7 separate regions of the Homo sapiens genome follow, and all the other regions are linked to region 6. The links are contacts of gene promoters, found by promoter capture Hi-C in blood cells and fetal thymus (Javierre and others, 2016). All regions are on one chromosome and are shown on one strand. The core of a region is centred on a gene start or on the middle of the fragment in contact, and the rest is flanking DNA. Distances in the headings are between cores, read along the strand shown.

What was found. Contacts are between HindIII fragments. The CHiCAGO score rates a contact against its expected background, and 5 or more counts as called.
Region 1: a fragment that was not itself captured here is called in contact with the fragment with the promoter of FSD1L in region 6 in 6 of 17 cell types (activated CD4 T cells, naive CD8 T cells, total CD4 T cells and 3 more); the score reaches 9.8 in activated CD4 T cells.
Region 2: a contact is called between a fragment that was not itself captured here and the fragment with the promoter of FSD1L in region 6, in 7 of 17 cell types (naive CD4 T cells, naive CD8 T cells, non-activated CD4 T cells and 4 more). The highest score is 6.6, in naive CD4 T cells.
Region 3: a contact is called between a fragment that was not itself captured here and the fragment with the promoter of FSD1L in region 6, in 2 of 17 cell types (monocytes and activated CD4 T cells). The highest score is 8.3, in monocytes.
Region 4: a contact is called between a fragment that was not itself captured here and the fragment with the promoter of FSD1L in region 6, in 8 of 17 cell types (non-activated CD4 T cells, total B cells, fetal thymus and 5 more). The highest score is 7.2, in non-activated CD4 T cells.
Region 5: a fragment that was not itself captured here is called in contact with the fragment with the promoter of FSD1L in region 6 in 3 of 17 cell types (monocytes, naive B cells and total CD4 T cells); the score reaches 9.1 in monocytes.
Region 7: a contact is called between a fragment that was not itself captured here and the fragment with the promoter of FSD1L in region 6, in 1 of 17 cell types (monocytes). The highest score is 5.2, in monocytes.

What each region holds. Positions count from the first base shown.
Region 1 is chr9:104,852,873-104,855,984 of GRCh38, reverse strand. All of the region lies in intron 7 of ABCA1 (ATP binding cassette subfamily A member 1), which reads left to right. Among named protein-coding and RNA genes, the nearest start is that of ABCA1, 74 kb to the left of the region's middle. The HindIII fragment of the contact is 9,731 bases long and covers 1-3,112 here.
Region 2 is chr9:104,871,234-104,874,435 of GRCh38, reverse strand. All of the region lies in intron 5 of ABCA1 (ATP binding cassette subfamily A member 1), which reads left to right. Among named protein-coding and RNA genes, the nearest start is that of ABCA1, 55 kb to the left of the region's middle. The HindIII fragment of the contact is 809 bases long and covers 901-1,709 here.
Region 3 is chr9:104,756,340-104,759,261 of GRCh38, reverse strand. It overlaps NIPSNAP3A (nipsnap homolog 3A), which reads right to left. Exons shown (of 6, transcript NM_015469.3): 5 at 91-177. Among named protein-coding and RNA genes, the nearest start is that of NIPSNAP3B, 6.3 kb to the left of the region's middle. The HindIII fragment of the contact is 8,593 bases long and covers 1-2,922 here.
Region 4 is chr9:104,835,225-104,838,104 of GRCh38, reverse strand. It overlaps ABCA1 (ATP binding cassette subfamily A member 1), which reads left to right. Exons shown (of 50, transcript NM_005502.4): 10 at 538-677; 11 at 1,009-1,125. Among named protein-coding and RNA genes, the nearest start is that of NIPSNAP3B, 73 kb to the right of the region's middle. The HindIII fragment of the contact is 5,491 bases long and covers 1-2,880 here.
Region 5 is chr9:104,783,985-104,787,132 of GRCh38, reverse strand. It overlaps ABCA1 (ATP binding cassette subfamily A member 1), which reads left to right. Exons shown (of 50, transcript NM_005502.4): 47 at 157-260; 48 at 743-835; 49 at 1,494-1,737; 50 at 2,678-3,148. The coding sequence ends at 2,818. It also overlaps a transcript of NIPSNAP3B not described here. Among named protein-coding and RNA genes, the nearest start is that of NIPSNAP3B, 21 kb to the right of the region's middle. The HindIII fragment of the contact is 596 bases long and covers 1,149-1,744 here.
Region 6 is chr9:105,446,780-105,450,035 of GRCh38, reverse strand. FSD1L (fibronectin type III and SPRY domain containing 1 like) reads right to left here and starts at 2,002. Exons shown (of 14, transcript NM_001145313.3): 1 at 1,801-2,002. The coding sequence starts at 1,815. RefSeq lists a silencer at 1,512-2,121. The HindIII fragment of the contact is 4,464 bases long and covers 1-3,076 here.
Region 7 is chr9:104,803,710-104,806,910 of GRCh38, reverse strand. ABCA1 (ATP binding cassette subfamily A member 1) reads left to right here. Exons shown (of 50, transcript NM_005502.4): 31 at 481-670; 32 at 2,191-2,285. Among named protein-coding and RNA genes, the nearest start is that of NIPSNAP3B, 41 kb to the right of the region's middle. The HindIII fragment of the contact is 3,067 bases long and covers 1-3,000 here.

The DNA of each region.
Region 1 (3,112 bases), core at 204-2,703, 590 kb after region 6:
AACTCTTCTTTCAATATGTGCTTCTGTACCAAAAGTGGAATTTCACGAGAGACATATTTTGAAACATTTCTCCTTTTGTGTGTGCGTGAGTGTTTCCCTGTTTCCAGCCAAGGGTATTGTGAGTTTCTCCTGGGCCTCCTTCAGAATCTGGGTGCTCTGGAAAGCAGTGTTTTGGCAACATGGGGAAAGTATGGCAGTGTGGGAGGGTCAGCTGGGTCTGGGTTTGAATATTGCATTTGAATATTTTACCAGCATTGATGTCGGATAAATTATTTAGTCCCTGTAAGCCTCAGTTTTCTCTTCTTCTACATACACATAATATATTTGACTCTTTGTTGTGATTATTGGTTACACATATGAAGAGCCTGGTGTGGGGCCTGGCACACAATAGGTGCTCAATAAATAGAAGTTGATAATTTAATTGACATGAGTAGTAGAAATTATGTCCTTGAAAACAATTGCGTCAAGATAGAAGTTTTCAGCCAGGCACAGTGGCTCACATCTGTTGTAATCCCAGCATATTGTGGGGGCCGAGGCGGATGAATCACTTGAGGCCAGGAGTTCAAGACCAGCCTGGCCAACGTGGTGAAATCCCCTCTCTACTAAAAATACACATATTTGCCAGGCAGGCGTGGTGGCGCACACCTGTAATCCCAGCTACTGAAGAGGCTGAGGCACAAGAATCGCTTGAACCCAGGAGGTGGAAGTTGCAGTGAGCTGAGATCACTCCACTGCATTCCAGCCAGCGTGACAGAGTGAGACTCTGTCTCAGAAAAAGAAAAAAAAGATAGAAGTTTTCTTCTGTAGATCAGTGTTAGAACTCATACCAAGCGAAGTGGTCCTGGTGAGTATTTCAGTGAAAAACTGCATTCTTGCTCAGATATTGTCAAGACTTTTCACCCAAAGATTCTTATTTATGTCTCAGTCCGTACCTTGTGTGAAAATTAATACTGGATGTCAGAACGCTGTTGTGTTTTTAAAGTTCCCTGGGGTTAAGAGCAGTTTCCATTAGGTGTTCTCTGCTTTTTACTTAAAAATCTTACTCATGCATTGAGCAATATTTATTCAGTTCTTATTATGTGTCAGGTATTTTCTAGGAGCTGGACTCAACTCAAAAGATATCCTTTTGATGAGAACAAAGGTGGGTGGATATATGAAATATTATCTGTGGGATAAATGCACTTAGTCATGAGGGAGACTTGTTATGGAGTGCGCTCATTGTATTTGTACTGTTGAGTTAACAACTTCTAGGAGGAGCTCAGGGCCACCTGGCAGGGGCTTCTTTTGTCTTGCTGCTCAGCAAGGTGTATTTTGCTGTAGAGTGTGCTGGGCAGGTGAACTTTTCTTAACTTTCTCTTGGGTCCTTCCTAAAGCAGCATGTACCTTTCCCAGAGCGAGGAGAGGGCCACCTTCCTGTCTCACAGAAACCTCCAATCTGTTTTGGACTGCAGGAAGGAGCCATAGTAGTGGACCAGCAAATTTTGGCCCGAGAGATTGATTTGCTTCCGATTGTACTTTTTTTTTTTATTGCTACTATAACAAGTCACCAAATACTTAGCAGTTTATAACCACATACATTTATTATTTCATAAGGCCAGAAGCCAGGATACAGTAGAGCTCACCTAGGTCTACTTCTTAGAGGCTCACAGGGCTGATATCAAGGTGTTTGTGGGGCTGTGTTTTTTTGGGGGGGCTCTGAAGATGAATCTGCTTTGGAGCTCATCCAGGATATCAGATGAATTCAGTCCCGTGCAGTTGTAGGACTGAAGTCCATTTCCTTGCTGGCTGTCAGCAGGGGCTGGTTTTTGCTCCTAAAGGTTGCCATCATTCCTTCTTATGCTTTTCATGTGACTCCTCTCCCACAAGTGGGTTGAGTATCTCTCACACTTTAAACCTCTGACGCCTCCTGTCACATCTGTCTCCAGTCAGAGAAAGTTCTTTACTTTTAAGGGCTCAGGTGTTTAGTTTGGGCCCATTCACATAATCCAGGATAATCTCCTTATTTTGAGGTTCATAACTTTAATTACATCTACACAGTGCATTTGCTATGAAATGTGCATATTCACAGACTCCAGGAATAGGGTGTGGACATCTTTGCAGGGGATATTCAGTCTGCTGTAGCTTTCTTGATTGGAAGGAATAGTTTATCATATATTTGAAGTGTTCCCTCAGTGCCTTTGGCTTTTGTTGACCCCTCTGCAGCTCTCTGCTTTTTCTTGCCCATATTTGGAAAGTGACTCTAAAGCATAATAAGCATCACCTATTAGGGTTTTTAATGTACAAACCAAACAGAGGTGACTTTGGGAGGAGAACATCTCTGAACTAGGTATGAGACATTCATCGAAAAAAATCCATCAAGTGTTTATTGTATGTCTGCTTTATACCAGCACTGTTCTAGGCACTGAAGTTCGACCACCAACAAGGCAGTTGTGATGCACTTGGAGCTTTCATTCTGATGGGCATTGAGATCCAGGCTGAAGGCTGAGTCTGGGAATTTGAGGAATTCTTTGTAGGTCCTGGGTCTACAGAGTGAGAGCTGTCCTCGTTCCAGTTTCACTGATGACCTCTCGACCAGCTCCCTCACAGCAGTCTTTGCCAACACAGACACTGTGGGCTGTAGTGGGAGGAATGTGGGGTTGAATGAGCTAGGTTTGGGCTCTGTCCTTGACTCACCATTGCCTCAGTGATGTGAAAATGGTGTCTGATCCTTAAGGTTGGAAGTCCAGGCATGCAGATTTATCTCCATCTCAATAACGTGGGGAAAAAAAAGAAGTGGTTTTTGTGGAACCAGTGGTTCCACTGTCCACGTGTCTTCCAGTGTGCCTAGCACATTCCCACCAAGTGGATCTTGGTTCATGAGGGAAAGAAGGGAAAGTGAGGGTGCCCCGAGGCTCCCAGAAGACAAGTAATGTCACAGCTGAGCTGTGTACAGATCGAAGAAGCAGATGGATAAGGAGTGAACAAAGTCATCCTTGTCTTGAGGGGTCTTTATTTAGCTTCTTCTTGACTCTTAGACAAGGACCCAGAATACAGATGGGGCTTGTTGTTACCTTCAGCCTCATGGCTTTTTAGGGCTAGATACTTCAGCTTGTTACATGCAGTCCTTAAAGCG
Region 2 (3,202 bases), core at 56-2,555, 570 kb after region 6:
TTACCACCAGGCCTGGCTAATTTTTGTATTTTTTAGTAGAGACGGGGTTTTGCCATGTTGGCCATTTGAACTCCTGACCATCTTTGAACTCCTGACCATGTTTGCCATGTTGAACTCTTGACTTCAGGTGCGTTGGCCTCCCAAAGTGCTGGGATTACAGGTGTGAGCCACCATGCCCAGCCTGTTTGGCCTTTCTGATATGGCTCTGACTAATCTTTTTGGAAATTAGTCCCCAGGGTTATACTGGATTTTACTTAGGGAAAAGGGTCATGCCTCTCTGGCTGTCAGATTTACTGATAGTACTAAGGACTCAGTGGGGTGGACCTTTGATTCTGGTTTGATTTTTGAAAATCAAAAAGACGTGAGCTCCAGGGAGCAGGGTGGCTTTGGTGACATGGCAAGATAGTTGGCTGTGGCAGGGAGTTGAGGGAAGTGGGTAGAAAATTAACATCTTGTAAATATTCCCTGGGAAATATACCTTCGTGTTAAGAGAACAGACTTGGCAGCCAGATGGCCTAGGTTCAAATCTTGGCTTGATGCTTATCAGCTGTGTAACCTTGGATAATTCCATACATCTCTGTGCCTCAGTTTCCTCAAATGGAATAACAATAGTACCTCCCTCAGGACTATTGTGGCAAATTAATGGACGAATAAGGGGAAGCACTTAGTACAGTGCCTGGCCCAGCATAGGTACCAGGCTTGTTCTTAAGCTCACTGCATTTTTACAATCATCATAAAATGCAGGGGATACACACATGAAGGAGCCGAAGTTCAGAGAGGCCAAGTAACTTGCCTAAGAAAGCACAGCTGGCAAGGGGCAGTAATAGGACCAGAATTCCAGTTTCTCGTGCTCTGTTGTTGTTATATCCTAAAGAGAGCAGCTCTGAGTAGCCAGAAGCTTCCCTAAAGTCACAGGACATGGGGCATGGGCTGGCTGGGATGAGAAAGGAGACAAGAGGGCTTCTGAAAGAAATGCCAGATTCACTCCACTTCCTGGCTTCAGGCACCGATGGAATGTTTCCCAAGGCCCATCTAGAAAGAACATCCTGTGACTCACAGCCACTTCTCATTTTCTGTCTGAACCCCCTCACCCATTCAGGCAGCTGCTAAAGTTGAGGTTACAGCCTCAGACTATATTTTCTGTCCTTGTGGAACCCCAGTGTGTCATCTTGTTGGGAGATCTGGTGATACATGTGTCAACATTATGTCATCAAAATGGAAATTCTTTGAAATCTTTAGGTGATTGCAATTCACGTTCTGTATGTATGCACTTGTCAAAAGTTTTGATTTGAGGCCTTAGAATTTTATATTTGGAAACCTTTCCACTACCATGAGTTTTCCCAGACCTGTCAAAGCCAGGCTGCATCTCAGAAACCAGGTCTTTGATTTCCATCCAGGGCAAGGGCCTGGGCCCAGCTGGGCTGTAAGCAGGTGGGGGTGGGGAGCAACGCTGCACTGCAATGTTGAAATATTACTTGAACTAAATCAAATCAAAGATCAGCTTTACTCAGACAAGAATAGAAAACACAATTGCATTCGATTACAGAATAGTGTGTATCCCCACAAATATCAGACTGCCTTTAAAAAGTTTTGAATTGTTAACATCAAGAACAGTGTTGCGTGTCTCCTGCTTTTCCAGCATAAGGTTTATTTATTCTGTGGGTGGCAAAGAGCAATTTGGGAGTCCAGTTTGTTTCTCATTGAAAGCTTTCCCATTTCTGGTCCTCTTGTCACTGTTGCATTGAGGCACCAAAAGGCAATCTCAGTGCGACACTATTCAACAGACTAAGTTGCACCGGATAATGATACCATTTTACATTTTTCATATATTATTACATTGAAGGCTTCAAACAGCACTAGCAGGGGCAAATTGGTATTATTATCTCCATTTCATTGATGAGGAAACCGAGGCTCGAAAGGGTAATGTCTGTTGTCCAAGATTAAAGAGTAAAGTTGTACGTTGAATCGGGGTCTGACTCCTAGGCTTAGCATTTTCTCCCCACACTATGCTGCCATGTTGCTTATTCCAACATTAGGAAGCATAGGTGCCATCCCCAGCTTTTGAGGCCAATATCACGATGAAGCATTTTTAAAACATCTCATTAAATTGCTGATATAGTGGAAAGAACCAAAGCTTTGCAGTCAAAGCTGTTTGGGTTCAAATTTACCACTTGTTTGTTCTATGACCCTGAGCAAGATATTCTCCAGATCTGTTTCCTCATTTGAAAAATGGGAATAATAATACGTTTCTTTATAGGCTGTTCTTAAAGATTCTGGAAAATAATGCTAATAGTGTGCCTAATGCTTGGTAAATATGAGTCACTTTTCTGTGCCCACAAAGCACTACTATGTCCCTTAATAAATTTTGTTAATTTTAAAAGTTAGAAAAAAATTAAACTATTTATACATTGTGTATGTTAATTCTTCCCTAGACCAGCCTTAGGAAGAATCTCATCCCCAACTTGTAAACTCATCTTTTTCCGTTCTTTTTGTGCCTGGACTTCTCAGGGCCCTGCAGGCTGATTCTAGTCCCATGTTGTGTGGTGTTTGAAGTGTCTGGTCCCTTTTTTCAGTGAGAGACCAGCTCATCCTTGGGAACTGAATGCCTCAAACTCTCTTTTCTTTTTCTCTCTTCCCCTTCTGTTTGATGTAGTCTTTCCTGTTTCTGGACTCTGTTTCTTCATACTTCCTATCTCTTACCTTCTTTTCACTCCTTTTGTCTTCCAGCTGTCCTCTCTCATTTTTCTGCCTCTCTGGTCTTCAGGTAGAGTTTTCATCTCAGCTATCTTCTTGCTTTTTCTGATGTTGGTTCTTTGTTTCTTCTTCTCATTCTGTTCAGGTCCAAAATTCATTTGGGTCAATGTTATGTCTTAGTGTTATCTTCCATTTCCTTCTGAGCTTCAAAGCCAGGCTGACTGTGCCCTTCCACGCCCTGGCCAGTGTGACCAGGACATCCTTTCCCTCTGGGGCTGCACTGGCTCTTTGGGGGAATTGTTACCATTCAGGGTCTTCAACCCTCATTCTAGGGACTTCCAGTAACTTCTCCCACCTTCCCTCTTCTCAGTAAGACATGGGTATTGTCTTATTCTGTTTCTGCTGCTAGAAGAAAATTCTCGAGACTGAGTAATTTATACACAATAGAAATTTACTTCTCACAGTTCTGGAGGCTGGGAAATCCAAAATCAAGGTGTTGGCAGGTTTG
Region 3 (2,922 bases), core at 423-2,922, 690 kb after region 6:
CTGGAAAAACATTTCATAGAAAGGCATATAGAGTTACTGACTGAAACACATTTGTTCTAAAAATAATTCATGCCTAGTCAAACAGCTTACCAGCTGCCACAACTCTGGGATCCTCATGGGACTTATGTCTCCCAGCTGCACGACTATCTGCACTCTCATTCCACCAAAGAACATGAACTGCAGAAATAAACCACAAGTAGCTTCTAAAAAATATGGCCTTAACAAATAAGAAATAACAGAAAAATGAATCAAACCCATCCTATTCTTTTTTTTTTTTTTTTTTTTTTTTTGAAACAAGAGTTTCACTCTTGTCACCTAGGCTGGAGTGCAGTGGCACGATCTCGGCTCACTGCAACATCTGCCTCCTGGGTTCAAGCGATTCTCCTGCCTCAGCCTCCTGAGTAGCTGGAATTACAGGCGCCCACCACCACGTCCGGCTAATTTTTTTTTTTTTTTGTATTTTTAGTAGAGATGGGGTTTTGCCATGTTGGGCAGGCTGGTCTCGAACTCCTGACCTCAGGTGATCCGCCCACCTTAGCCTCCCAAAGTGCTGAGATTACAGGCGTGAGCCACCGCGCTTGGCCAAAACCATCCTATTCTTTAAATCGAAATAGTGATATCAAAAAGGTAAAACTAAATATGTTACTGATAAGATTTCAGAGGGGTCAGAGACTTGCTAGAGAAATTGATAAATTAATCAAATTGGTTTTATAGATGAAGAAATAGAAGGCTGGAAAACGGAAGTACTGAAGTAAAACAGCTAGAGGCACAATCAAGACAAGACCCAAATTTTATGATTTCCTACTATATTTTCCCTTGATTTTTAAAAAAGCAAAATTATGAGCAAATTGTGCTTATTATTAAAATTTTACATTATACAAAGAAGAAAATTGAAAGTGGTATAATGTTAACAGTATAGAGAAAACCTCTATGGAAATTTATTGTACTTCCTTTAGAAAATATGAGTAAAACCAAATCAGGGTCTTATTGTATATTATAATAACAGATTTAGCTTAGTAACAAGTTTTTAAAAACAGTATTTTCTATGGCAATATTAATTTTTAATGGTTATATAAATTCCTCCTTACAGATACAGCAACTTATTATGTCAACCCCTTATTGTTGACTATTTAGACTATTTCCAATATTTCAGTATTCTATAAAATACTGGAATAAATGTTGTTCTTGTACAAAATTGCTTATGAAGTTTTTATAATTGTAATATATACATGTTAGATGTATAGGAAAATGCAGATTAAAAACAAACTAATCATTTTATTTTTGGTGTATCTCTTTTATATTTGGTGTATCTCTTTCTATATTTGTGTATATATGTATTTTTATTTTTTAATTTTAATTTTATTTTTATTTTTGTAGAGACAGGTTCCCACTTTGTTGCCCAGGCTGGTCTCGAACTCCTAGCCTCAAGCAATCCTACTGCCTTGGCATCCCAAAGTGTTGGGATTACAGGCATGAACCACCACGCCTGGCCTGTATTTTTATATATAGTTGTATATGTATACAAATAAACATATATAAGCATATTTGCTTATGCTTATGTAAATACACGATATGACGTACATGTATATCGATTTCTGTATTACGTATGTATTACATAAAGAAGGTCATACTACATTTCCAATGTTTCTTTAATGTAAACAATATTAACATAAACTTCATTTGAGCACAACTATGTGTTTATAATAATACTTTCGATGACAACTACTGACATTTATTGAATGATAACTATGTGTCAGGCCTAGTTTTAAGCATTTTAATGTATTAACTCATTTAATCCTCATAATAATCTAGGTCCTCATAATAATCTATCATTTTATAGATGAAAAAACTAAGGTATGGTGAGGTTTACTTACCCAAAGTCAAAAAGTAAGTAGTGTACCTGGGATTCAAACCCAGGCAGTCTGAATCTGATTATTTCCTTAATATAAAGTAGAATTTAAGTTGACAGAACCAAAGAGCATGTCTTATATATATGTACTTACATATAGTGTATATAGTATACACTGTCCTCCAGAAATGATGTACTGATTACCAATTCTCCTAACACTGAGAATGAATTTAAGATTAAAAAGTGTATGAACACACATTTTCTGTAGTTTTTAAAAAAATAAAACTTAATATGTGCAGTATAGAAAATTAAGGTAGAGGCTAGGTGTAGTGGCTCAGGCCTCTTATCCCACCACTTTGGGAGGCCGAGGCGGGCGGATCACCTGTGGTCAGGAGTTTGAGACCAGCCTGGTGAAATCCTGTCTCTACTAAAAATACAAAAATTAGCTGGGCATGGTGGCACACAGCTGTAATCCCAGCTACTTGGGAGGCTGAGGCAGGAGAACCGCCTGAACCAAGGAGGCGGAGGTTGCAGGGAGCTGAGATCGTACCTGCACTCCACAGAGCGAGGCTCCATCTCAAAAAAAAAAAAAAAAAAAGAATATTAACATAGAGACTTAACCATTTATCTCACTGAAATATGACTACTATGTATGTTATATACTTTCAAATTTCTTTTCTGTATAATTTAGCACACCTATACACATACACACCCAGGCATATTTTCTAGAAGTAATACTGGCAAAAACAATAAAAATAAGGCTTTTATTTTTATTGTCAAATTTTGGGGGAAGATTAAGCTAATATGAACCCTACACAGTATCTGAGTACTTATTTTTTCCTGACCTAATACTATATCCATGTAAGTATACCTTTTATAAGGTAAAGAAATGGCATCTCATTATTGTTTTAATATGCATTTTCTTTAATATATATTTAGTAGCCATGTGCATGTCTACTTTTGCATAAATTTTTATTTTTATTTTTGCTTTTGAATTTCATTTATGGTGATTTTCAGGCATCCAGATAGTTTGAGCCTTTGTATAATAAAATCATAAGTTGATTTTTTTTTCT
Region 4 (2,880 bases), core at 23-2,522, 610 kb after region 6:
GTTCGCCCGCCTTGGCCTCCCAAAGTGCTGGGATTGCAGGCATGAGCCACTGCGCCCAGCCCCAAATTTTGGTTTTTGCTTGAAAACTGAGGTCTGAATTCAGCCTTCTGGTTGCCCCTCAAGAGTCAGTTTAAATGTTGGTCATGTTAGTTGTCAGTGAAAACAATGGTGAGGCTGGCATGAGAGTGTGAATCTGGATGGGAGGGCTTGTGCTTCATGAAAACATTTTTCCAGATCAGCTCAGTCGTGAGTTATCCGTCATTGACGTTATAATAAGCTCTGATTATTTATCAAGCATCATTCTTTATAGATATCTCAGTTTAATCTGAGATAATCTTCTCCACATCTCTCCACATAGATGTTATGAATTTTACTTTTACAGAGGAGCCAACTGAGGCTCAGATAAGTTACTTATTATATGACTAGTAGTGGTAGAGCTGGGGTTTCAACTAAGAACTCTCTGGCTCCAAAGCCCTTGTAAGTTTCTATCAGTATATGACCATGCATATGAGCATTTGTCTCTCCTCTTCTTCATAGCTCCTTACTGCAATGATTTGATGAAGAATTTGGAGTCTAGTCCTCTTTCCCGCATTATCTGGAAAGCTCTGAAGCCGCTGCTCGTTGGGAAGATCCTGTATACACCTGACACTCCAGCCACAAGGCAGGTCATGGCTGAGGTAAGCTGCCCCCAGCCCAAGACTCCCTCCCCAGAATCTCCCCAGAACTGGGGGCAAAAAACTCAAGGTAGCTTCAGAGGTGTGCGCTAAGTATACTCACGGCTCTTCTGGAATTCCCAGAGTGAAAACCTCAAGTCTGATGCAGACCAGAGCTGGGCCAGCTCCCCAGTCGTGGGTATAGAATCATAGTTACAAGCAGGCATTTCTTGGGGATGGGGAGGACTGGCACAGGGCTGCTGTGATGGGGTATCTTTTCAGGGAGGAGCCAAACGCTCATTGTCTGTGCTTCTCCTCCTTTTTCTGCGGTCCCTGGCTCCCCACCTGACTCCAGGTGAACAAGACCTTCCAGGAACTGGCTGTGTTCCATGATCTGGAAGGCATGTGGGAGGAACTCAGCCCCAAGATCTGGACCTTCATGGAGAACAGCCAAGAAATGGACCTTGTCCGGGTGAGTGTCCCTCCCATTATTACCATGTGCCTGCTTGATACTGGAGAGGTGAGTTTCTGGTCACTTTCCCAGGTGTGAGTGAGGTGAGAATTCTTTCAGTTTATCTAGCTGGGGGAATGTAGTGAGCATAGCTAAAGTCACAGGGCACCACCTCTCCAGAAGTACAGGCCATGGTGCAGAGATAACGCTGTGCATATCAGCATCCATGCCACTCACGGTCAAATAGCAGTTTTCTGCAAAACTTAGTGAGGGCTGGTGTTTGGAAGTGGAGTTGAGTAATTGCAGTACCCTATTTTCCTTTTTGGCTGCAGCCTCTCAGCCAGCCACAGCATCTCCCTGTGTCTTGGTAGGTTTTGGAAAGAAGTGTGGGAGCAAAAGCATGATGTTACATGTAGACTGGCCTGAGATACTCATTCTCAGGGCACTGTGTGAATGATGAGCTGCTGTTACTGTGTGGAGGGGAAATGCACTTAGTGCTTCAGAGCCACTTGAAAGGGATAAGTGCTCTAGAGACAATTGGGTTCAAATGTGGAGCAGGCTGAGCAAGAACAGAATGTCTCCTTTGCCTGAGCCTGAGTGCTGTTAATCACATCTTCCTGCCTTGGGCTGAGTTAGAGAATCATTAGACTATTTCCTGTTTCCATGGTGAGGGAGGCCTCTTCCTTTTGTCTCTGCTCCCCTTAAGAAGCAGGTGAGGATTTTGCCAGGTTTCTTGTTTTGAACCTTATTGACTTTAAGGGCGGCTGGGTTTTAGAGACTGTACCTACCTAGGGGGAACACTTCCGAAGTTTAGGACTATTCCCTGATCCGCTGGGAGGCAGGTTACTGAGGAAGTCCCTTTAAAAACAAAGGAGTTTATACTGAGAAAAGCATAAACAGTGATTTGTATGGATTCACACTGACTAATATAGCTCATGCCATTAAAGTGGGGTCTCTTCTCTAAAGGAGGGTTATATGATCTAGCCCCGTAGACCTAAGTGTGGTTTCAGACCTGTTCTTCCTGGTCCTCTCCTTGGAATCCATATTTCTACTAGTTGGACTTTTTCTGTTTGTCTGGCTCTCAGAGGATTATAGGAGGCCCTGTGAAGTGACTCAGTGAATTTTGATTTGTGGGCAAGTAGATGGTTCCCTAGTCTGAAATTGACTTTGCCTTAGGTGCTTCAATTCTTCATAAGCTCCCAGTTCTTAAAGGACAAGATCCTTGTAAACATGGCAATGGCATTCATTAGGAATCTAGCTGGGAAAATCCAGTGTGTATGCTTGGAAATGAGGGATCTGGGGCTGGAGAGAAAGGCATGGGCATGCCTTGGAGGGACTTGTGTGTCAAGCTGAGGACCTTTACTTTAAGCTCTAGGGGACCAGGCAAGGGGAGATGTAGATACGTTACTCTGATGGGGTGGATGAATTGAAGAAGGATGAGGCAAGAATGAAGGCAGAGACCAGGGAGGAGGCTCTCCAAGTGGCCAAGGCATAAAGCAAGAAATGAGGCCTGGTGACTGCTTAGTGGCAGAGCAGTGAAAGAGAGGGAGGCATCAAAGTGAGTCTCGATTTCTAGCTGGGTGGGTGGTAGCGATGTCCAGTAGGCCAGTGGCTACTGAGGTCTGCAGTGGAGGAGGGTGGTTGGGCTGGAGACAGATGATGAGGGAGTCATCAGCCTGTGGGTGGAAGAAAAGGGAACCTCTTCCAACTGTTTTCTTTGCTTCTTCCCTCTCTTTCTCTTTTTTTTTTTTTTTGGACAGAGTCTTGCTCTGTCAC
Region 5 (3,148 bases), core at 197-2,696, 660 kb after region 6:
TTTGAAAGTTACTCTAATTCTTTGATTCATCAAGAAATAACTAGAATGGCAAGTTAAAATTTAAGCTGTTTCAAAGATGCTTCTGCATTTAAAAACAAATTTATCTTTGATTTTTTTTCCCCCCAGCAAATAAGACTTATTTTATTCTAATTACAGGATGAACCCACCACAGGCATGGATCCCAAAGCCCGGCGGTTCTTGTGGAATTGTGCCCTAAGTGTTGTCAAGGAGGGGAGATCAGTAGTGCTTACATCTCATAGGTCCGTAGTAAAGTCTTGGGTTCCTCACTGTGGGATGTTTTAACTTTCCAAGTAGAATATGCGATCATTTTGTAAAAATTAGAAAATACAGAAAAGCAAAGAGTAAAACAATTATTACCTGAAATTATATATGCATATTCTTACAAAAATGCAAGCCCAGTATAAATACTGCTCTTTTTCACTTAATATATTGTAAACATTATTCCAAGTCAGTGCATTTAGGTGTCATTTCTTATAGCTGGATAGTATTCCATTAGGATATACTCTTATTTAACTATTCCCCCTTTTGTAGACATTTGGATTATTTCCAACTTGTTCACAATTGTAAACACCACTACACTGAACAGCATCATCCCTATATCCACATGTACTTGTAACAGAATACAATTCCCTAGGAAGCTGGAATGCTGGAAGTCATGGTGATGTTCTCATGGTTACAGAGAATCTCTCTAAAACTAAAACCTCTTTCTGTTTTACCGCAGTATGGAAGAATGTGAAGCTCTTTGCACTAGGATGGCAATCATGGTCAATGGAAGGTTCAGGTGCCTTGGCAGTGTCCAGCATCTAAAAAATAGGTAATAAAGATAATTTCTTTGGGATAGTGCCTAGTGAGAAGGCTTGATATTTATTCTTTTGTGAGTATATAAATGGTGCCTCTAACATAAAGGGAAATAAAACTGAGCAAAACAGTATAGTGGAAAGAATGAGGGCTTTGAAGTCCGAACTGCATTCAAATTCTGTCTTTACCATTTACTGGTTCTGTGACTCTTGGGCAAGTGACTTAACTACTGTAAGAGTTAGTTTCCCTGGAAGATCTACCTCCTAGCTTTGTGCTATAGATGAAATGAAAAAAATTTACATGTGCCAGTACTGGTGAGAGCGCAAGCTTTGGAGTCAAACACAAATGGGTTTGCATCCTGGCCCTACCAATTATGAGCTCTGAGCCATGGGCAAGTGACTAACTCCCTGGGCCTCAGTTTCTCTGTAACATCTGTCAGACTTCATGGGTCCAGGTGAGGATTAAAGGAGATCATGTATTTACAGCACATGGCATGGTGCTTCACATAAAATAAGTATTTAGTAAATGATAACTGGTTCCTTCTCTCAGAAACTTATTTCTGGGCCTGCCAGGGGCCGCCCTTTTTCATGGCACAAGTTGGGTTCCCAGGGTTCAGTATTCTTTTAAATAGTTTTCTGGAGATCCTCCATTTGGGTATTTTTTCCTGCTTTCAGGTTTGGAGATGGTTATACAATAGTTGTACGAATAGCAGGGTCCAACCCGGACCTGAAGCCTGTCCAGGATTTCTTTGGACTTGCATTTCCTGGAAGTGTTCTAAAAGAGAAACACCGGAACATGCTACAATACCAGCTTCCATCTTCATTATCTTCTCTGGCCAGGATATTCAGCATCCTCTCCCAGAGCAAAAAGCGACTCCACATAGAAGACTACTCTGTTTCTCAGACAACACTTGACCAAGTAAGCTTTGAGTGTCAAAACAGATTTACTTCTCAGGGTGTGGATTCCTGCCCCGACACTCCCGCCCATAGGTCCAAGAGCAGTTTGTATCTTGAATTGGTGCTTGAATTCCTGATCTACTATTCCTAGCTATGCTTTTTACTAAACCTCTCTGAACCTGAAAAGGGAGATGATGCCTATGTACTCTATAGGATTATTGTGAGAATTTACTGTAATAATAACCATAAAAACTACCATTTAGTGAGCACCTACCATGGGCCAGGCATTTTACTTGGTGCCTAATCCTATTTAAATTAGATAAAAAAGTACCAAATAGGTCCTGACACTTAAGAAGTACTCAGTAAATATTTTCTTCCCTCTTCCCTTTAATCAAGACCGTATGTGCCAAAGTAAATGGATGACTGAGCAGTTGGTGATGTAGGGGTGGGGGGCGATATAGAAAGTCAGTTTTTGGCCGGGCGTGGTGGCTCATGCCTGTAATCCCAGCACTTTGGGAGGCTGAGGAGCAGGCAGATCATGAGGTCAGGAGATCCAGATAATCCTGGCCAACAGGGTGAAACCCCGTCTCTACTAAAAATACAAAAATTAGCTGGGCATGGTGGTGCGCACTTGTAGTCCCAGCTACTTGCGAGGCTGAGGCAGGAGAATTGCTCGAACCCAGGAGGTGGAGGTTACAGTGAGCCAAGGTCTCGCCACTGCACTCCAGCCTGGGGACAGAGCAAGACCCCATTTCAAGGGGGGAAAAAAAGTCTATTTTTAAGTTGTTATTGCTTTTTTCAAGTATTCTTCCCTCCTTCACACACAGTTTTCTAGTTAATCCATTTATGTAATTCTGTATGCTCCTACTTGACCTAATTTCAACATCTGGAAAAATAGAACTAGAATAAAGAATGAGCAAGTTGAGTGGTATTTATAAAGGTCCATCTTAATCTTTTAACAGGTATTTGTGAACTTTGCCAAGGACCAAAGTGATGATGACCACTTAAAAGACCTCTCATTACACAAAAACCAGACAGTAGTGGACGTTGCAGTTCTCACATCTTTTCTACAGGATGAGAAAGTGAAAGAAAGCTATGTATGAAGAATCCTGTTCATACGGGGTGGCTGAAAGTAAAGAGGAACTAGACTTTCCTTTGCACCATGTGAAGTGTTGTGGAGAAAAGAGCCAGAAGTTGATGTGGGAAGAAGTAAACTGGATACTGTACTGATACTATTCAATGCAATGCAATTCAATGCAATGAAAACAAAATTCCATTACAGGGGCAGTGCCTTTGTAGCCTATGTCTTGTATGGCTCTCAAGTGAAAGACTTGAATTTAGTTTTTTACCTATACCTATGTGAAACTCTATTATGGAACCCAATGGACATATGGGTTTGAACTCACACTTTTTTTTTTTTTTTTGTTCCTGTG
Region 6 (3,256 bases), core at 753-3,252:
GTTTTTTCATTAGAAAGATTTGGTACCACCAATGAAATTCAACATATTTTCTAATATTGAGAAGTTGATTCTCAAAGATATCACAAATAAGATACATTACTACTACTACTAAGAAAGAGAAGCTAATTCTTTGCTACCTCTCAGGAAACTGCACGTGGTAACCTGTAGGTACCCTAACACATCATTCGAAATGAGAACAAATAGGTTCAAATCTTAGCCTTAGGGCTAGTAGCATGACCTTCCAGGAGTCACAACTCATTAAAGTAAGGAATAATGCATCCCTGATAAAGTATGATGATCAATATTAAAACACATTTTTTTGTATTTTATGGGACACAGTATTTTAGTGGTCATACTTTGTAAACTTTAAAATGCTGTGTTTTCAGAACAAACTATTTTATCAGATTTTTACTATGACACTATAAAATACTCTTACTTCTACTGCATAGATGAGGAAACAGATTAATCACAGTTAAGTGACTTGCTCCTTATCACAGAGCTAGTAAATAGCATCCTGGAACCCATGTCTCCGGACTTTGCTCCTTCACTTGACCTCTGCTAATGTCCATTCAAATATCATTTCTTTTATCTAATAAGCTGAGAGATGTTTTACAAATTTAGGCAGAGACAATATTTTAAACCTATACATACTCAAAATACACAAAATCTAATTTTTAAAAAATGCCTTAAGAATAGTCATGCATTCCAAGGTGAGTTTCAAGACCAACACATACAATGAAATCATATGCATATTTGTTAAATACTGTAATAGTCAATGCTCAACACATCATTATTCTCTCATGCCCTCAGTGAAGTGATCCTCAAGAAGGTGAATGTAGACAAAATTGTAGAAAACGTTGTTCTAAGTCTTTCCCGTGCTTTCTAATAATAGAAAAGAATAGTCTCTTAGATATGTCTTTGTTTTCCCTGCTACATTATTAATACTCCTTGTTTTTTCTTTCCTACCCTGTACTATATTTCAATTACGTTATAGTCTAACAAAGAGAACAGGGTGGTTATTTTCATATGGAGATTATGACTGAATAATTCACTTCTAACTGTATTCAAGACATTGGCTTTGTTCTCCAAATACTTCTGAATTGAACCTTTACGATTATATAACCTTTCCTCAACTGTTCGGAAAGTATAAAACATTCCACAACGACCCCTAAGTAACTGTGCCCAGCAACACCAACTGGTCAGAGAGTGGGAAGGCTGCCCTAACAATTGAAGTCTTTTCCCTCCATTCAACGAACACTAAACACTAAGATCTACTTAGGAAAAGTCATGGGAAGGGGAGCGGTGGGCGGTACAAAGGAGATTCGGTCCCTGACCTAAAGAGCGTGGTGCTGAGACGAGACTTGGTCGAGGAGAAAGCCCCAGCTTTCGGCGTCAGCAGGGAGACACCAAAAAGGCTGTGCCTCGGTTTCCTCACCTGCTGAGGAGGGATACACCCCCACCAGCACGCTCGCAGTCTGCAGGCATGAAAACCGGCCTAAAGCGCTGCAGAGTGGCTGATTTTAAAAGGGGGATGGCTCCGTTTCTCCTCCAGAGTCAGGGCCCCGGACAGCGCGCAGAGCAGAGGCCAGCCCGAGTCACCGGGCGCGGTCCCCGCATCCGTGTGGGCGCCTCTTAGCTCCCGCCCAGAGAGCGGCCGGGCGGCCTTGCCCTCCGCAGCAGCAGCCCGGACGCCCGGCCAGGCCCACCCCGCGCACCCACAGCCCACGGGCCCAGGCGCCCCGCCCACCCTGTGCCGGCCCGGCTTGTCTCGGTAGCCCCGGGCTCCCCTCCCCCGCTTACTTTCTGGGAGTCCATGGCGAGTGGCTAAGCCCACTGGGCTCGAACCCGAGACGACGAACCGTGTGAGGAGGCTCAGCGAGATCGCACACCCCAAGACCGCTACTCACTGCACTGCCCCAGCCCGCACCGGCACCGCCCGGCCCCACCCGTCCGCGCCCAGACCGCGCGCGCCGTAGTCACGCCGCGGTTGCCAGGGTGAAAGGGCGGCCCGCAGAAGGGAGGGGCTGAGGAGCGCACCGCGCCTGCGCGCAGCGGCTGACTGCTCCCGGGAAGTAGCCGTGGAGGGTGGGGAGCGCCGCCCGTCTGTCTACCGCTAGTGCCTCTGCAGGCTGCACTCCCTTCCCCCATCCTTTTTCCTCCAGCGATAGCGGTCTCTCCGGCCCTGAAATAGGCCACTGGGCATCCAGCAGCCGGCCGGTGCGGAGGGCCCGGGAAGGAAAGAGTATCTGGTGCTGGAGACGGATTAGCCCACCCTCCACCCAGCACGCATCTGAAGCCCCTCCCCACACTATCCTTCGAGGGGCAGCCAGGCTTGAGCGGACCCAGCGGTCCAAAGGGAGGAAAAGGGCTGGGGTGGGGATGTAGCGAAAACGTGGGAAAAGACCTTTAGGGGATGTGGTGGAAACGTGGGAGGAGGGATATAGGGATGAGAGTGGCGGAAACGTGGGTGTGGGATTAATATGAGCTTTGGGGCCTGGCACAGTTTTTCCCGGGGACCCACCCATCCTCCCCGGCACCTCGCTACCTGTATGATTTTGAGCAAGTCAGTCTGCCTGAGCTTGTTTCATCTGTAAAATGAGAGAAATAATGCGGACTTTGCAGAGGATTGTGAGGATTAAATAACGTATGGTACATAATTAGTAGTGAATAAATTATAGTCATTCTCTTTTTTTTTTTTTTTTTTTTTTTTTGGAGATGGAGTCTCGGTCTGTCACCGAGGCTGGAGTGCAGTGGTGCCATCTTGGCTCACTGCAACCTCTGCCTCCCGGGTTCCAGGAATTCTCGTGCCTCAGCCTCATGAGTAGCTGGGATTACAGGCGCCCCCACCACACCTGGCTAATTTTTTGTACTTTTAGCGGAGACTGGTTCTAGCCATGTTGCTTAGGATGGTCTCGAACTCCTAAGCTCAGGCAGTCCGCCCACCTCAGCCTCCCAAATTGCTAGGATTACAGGTGTGGGTTACAGGGCATGTGCCAGGCCCATTATAGTCATTCTTAGTGGGGAGTTAGAACCTGCTCGGTGTGGCCTGAGGCATCAATGAAGATTTTAGAAAGCTTGGAATTTAGTAGGCTTGAGAAAGTTCTTCCTCAAGCAGACAGGCCTCATCTTCCATTTGGATGACTCTGGAGAGGCTCACAAAAGTTCAATTAGACAGTCATTTATGATGAATGAATAAAAGGGAAATACATATTGAGTACCTATTCTGTACCAGTTCTACAAACAAAATTCAGTAGTG
Region 7 (3,201 bases), core at 218-2,717, 640 kb after region 6:
TCCCCAGTCACTGTCTTTTTATTTTGCTTTATTTTGGGCCATCTAAGGTTATCTTATTAGTGTATTTGTTGTTCGTCTCCTCCATGGGCATACACCTCCATGAAGGCAGGTATTTTCACCTTAGGCCCTCGAATATACTGGACAGCATCTGGCACGTAGTAGATGCTCAACGAATGTTTGTTGTGTGAGCAAATGGTTGGTTGATTGGATTGAACTGAGTTCAGTATGTAAATATTTAGGGCCTCTTTGCATTCTATTTTACTTATGTATAAAATGATACATAATGATGATATAAATGATGTCACAGTGTACAAGGCTGTTGTGGGATCAAGCAATCAAATGAGATCATGCTTGTCTTTTCCAAATGGTGAGGGAATAGATGCATGTTTGTGGTTGTTACGGAATGATCCTGTGCTCCTGAGGCAACAGAAAGGCCAGGCCATCTCTGGTAATCCTACTCTTGCTGTCTTCCCTTTGCAGAGACACGCCCTGCCAGGCAGGGGAGGAAGAGTGGACCACTGCCCCAGTTCCCCAGACCATCATGGACCTCTTCCAGAATGGGAACTGGACAATGCAGAACCCTTCACCTGCATGCCAGTGTAGCAGCGACAAAATCAAGAAGATGCTGCCTGTGTGTCCCCCAGGGGCAGGGGGGCTGCCTCCTCCACAAGTGAGTCACTTTCAGGGGGTGATTGGGCAGAAGGGGTGCAGGATGGGCTGGTAGCTTCCGCTTGGAAGCAGGAATGAGTGAGATATCATGTTGGGAGGGTCTGTTTCAGTCTTTTTTGTTTTTTGTTTTTTTTTCTGAGGCGGAGTCTTGCTCTGTCGCCCAGGCTGGAGTGCTGTGGCATGATCTTGCCTCACTGCAACCTCCACCTCCCAGGTTCAAGCGATTCTCCTGCCTCAGCCTCCTGAGTAGCTGGGATTACAGGCACGCACCACCATGTCTGGCTAATTTTTGTGTTTTTAGTAGAGATAGGGTTTCGCCGTGTTGGCTAGGCTGGTCTGGAATTCCTGACCTCAGGTGATCCACCCGCCTCGGCCTCCCAAAGTGCTGGGATTACAGGCGTGAGCCACTACGCCCAGCCCTGTTTCAGTCTTTAACTCGCTTCTTGTCATAAGAAAAAGCATGTGAGTTTTGAGGGGAGAAGGTTTGGACCACACTGTGCCCATGCCTGTCCCACAGCAGTAAAGTCACAGGACAGACTGTGGCAGGCCTGGCTTCCAATCTTGGCTCTGCAACAAATGAGCTGGTAGCCTTTGACAGGCCTGGGCCTGTTTCTTCACCTCTGAATTAGGGAGGCTGGACCAGAAAACTCCTGTGGATCTTGTCAACTCTGGTATTCTTAGAGACTCTGTTTGGGAAGGAGTCCTGAGCCATTTTTTTTTTCTTGAGAATTTCAGGAAGAGGAGTGCTTATGATAGCTCTCTGCTGCTTTTATCAGCAACCAAATTGCAGGATGAGGACAAGCAATTCTAAATGAGTACAGGAACTAAAAGAAGGCTTGGTTACCACTCTTGAAAATAATAGCTAGTCCAGGTGCGGGGTGGCTCACACCTGTAATCTCAGTATTTTGGGATGCCGAGGTGGACTGATCACCTAAGGTCAGGAGTTCGAAACCAGCTTGGCCAATGTGGCGAAACCCTGTCTCTACTAAAAATTCAAAAATTAGCCAGGCATGGTGGCACATGCCTGTAATCCCAGTTACTTGGGAGGCTGAAGCAGGAGAATTGCTTGAACCTGGGAGGTGGAGGTCGCAGGGAGCCAAAATTGCGCCACTGTACTCCAGCCTGAGCAACACAGCAAAACTCCATATCAAAAAATAAAATGAATAAAATAACAGCTAATCTAGTCATCAGTATAACTCCAGTGAACAGAAGATTTATTAGGCATAGTGAATGATGGTGCTTCCTAAAAATCTCTTGACTACAAAGAATCTCATTTCAATGTTTATTGTTTAGATGTTCAGAATAAATTCTTGGGAAAGACCTTGGCTTGGTGTAAGTGAATTACCAGTGCCGAGGGCAGGGTGAACCAAGTCTCAGTGCTGGTTGACTGAGGGCAGTGTCTGGGACCTGTAGTCAGGTTTCCGGTCACACTGTGGACATGGTCACTGTTGTCCTTGATTTGTTTTCTGTTTCAATTCTTGTCTATAAAGACCCGTATGCTTGGTTTTCATGTGATGACAGAGAAAACAAAACACTGCAGATATCCTTCAGGACCTGACAGGAAGAAACATTTCGGATTATCTGGTGAAGACGTATGTGCAGATCATAGCCAAAAGGTGACTTTTTACTAAACTTGGCCCCTGCCGTATTATTACTAATTAGAGGAATTAAAGACCTACAAATAACAGACTGAAACAGTGGGGGAAATGCCAGATTATGGCCTGATTCTGTCTATTGGAAGTTTAGGATATTATCCCAAACTAGAAAAGATGACGAGAGGGACTGTGAACATTCAGTTGTCAGCTTCAAGGCTGAGGCAGCCTGGTCTAGAATGAAAATAGAAATGGATTCAACGTCAAATTTTGCCACTTAGTAGCAACTTGACCAGGTAACTGGTTATCCTTTTAAAGCCTTAGTTTATCTAAATTGTGATATTAATGTTGCTCTTATAAGTTTGTCATGAGGACTAAATTAAATGGTGTACATAGAGTGCCTTGGGTACTCTCTGATGGGGGACTCCATGATAATTTGTGGTCTCATGGAGGGAGCTCTGGGAAGGTTTAGGAGCCTGCCTTGGCTCTGCAGCCTTGGGAGAGCCTTCTAGCTTCCCAGGACATGGCAGCCTAGTGTTGAATGCTTGGCTCAGCAAATGTTTGTTCTCGTTTCCTTCCCATCAACTTGGTCAGTTGGGGTCTTTCAGTTAGGAGTATCTCAGTGACTTTAAATGGCATGGGCATGCTGGAGTGATAGTGACCATGAGTTTCTAAGAAAGAAGCATAATTTCTCCATATGTCATCCACAATTGAAATATTATTGTTAATTGAAAAAGCTTCTAGGCCAGGCACGGTGGCTCATGCCTGTAATCCCAGCACTTTAGGAGGCCAAGGCGGGTGGATCACTTGAGGTCAGGAGTTTGAGACCAGCCTGGCCAACATGGGGAAACCCTGTCTCTACTAAAAATACAAAATAAGCTGGGCGTGGTGGTGCGTGCCTGTAATCCCAGCTACTTGGGAGGCTGAGGCAGGAGAATTG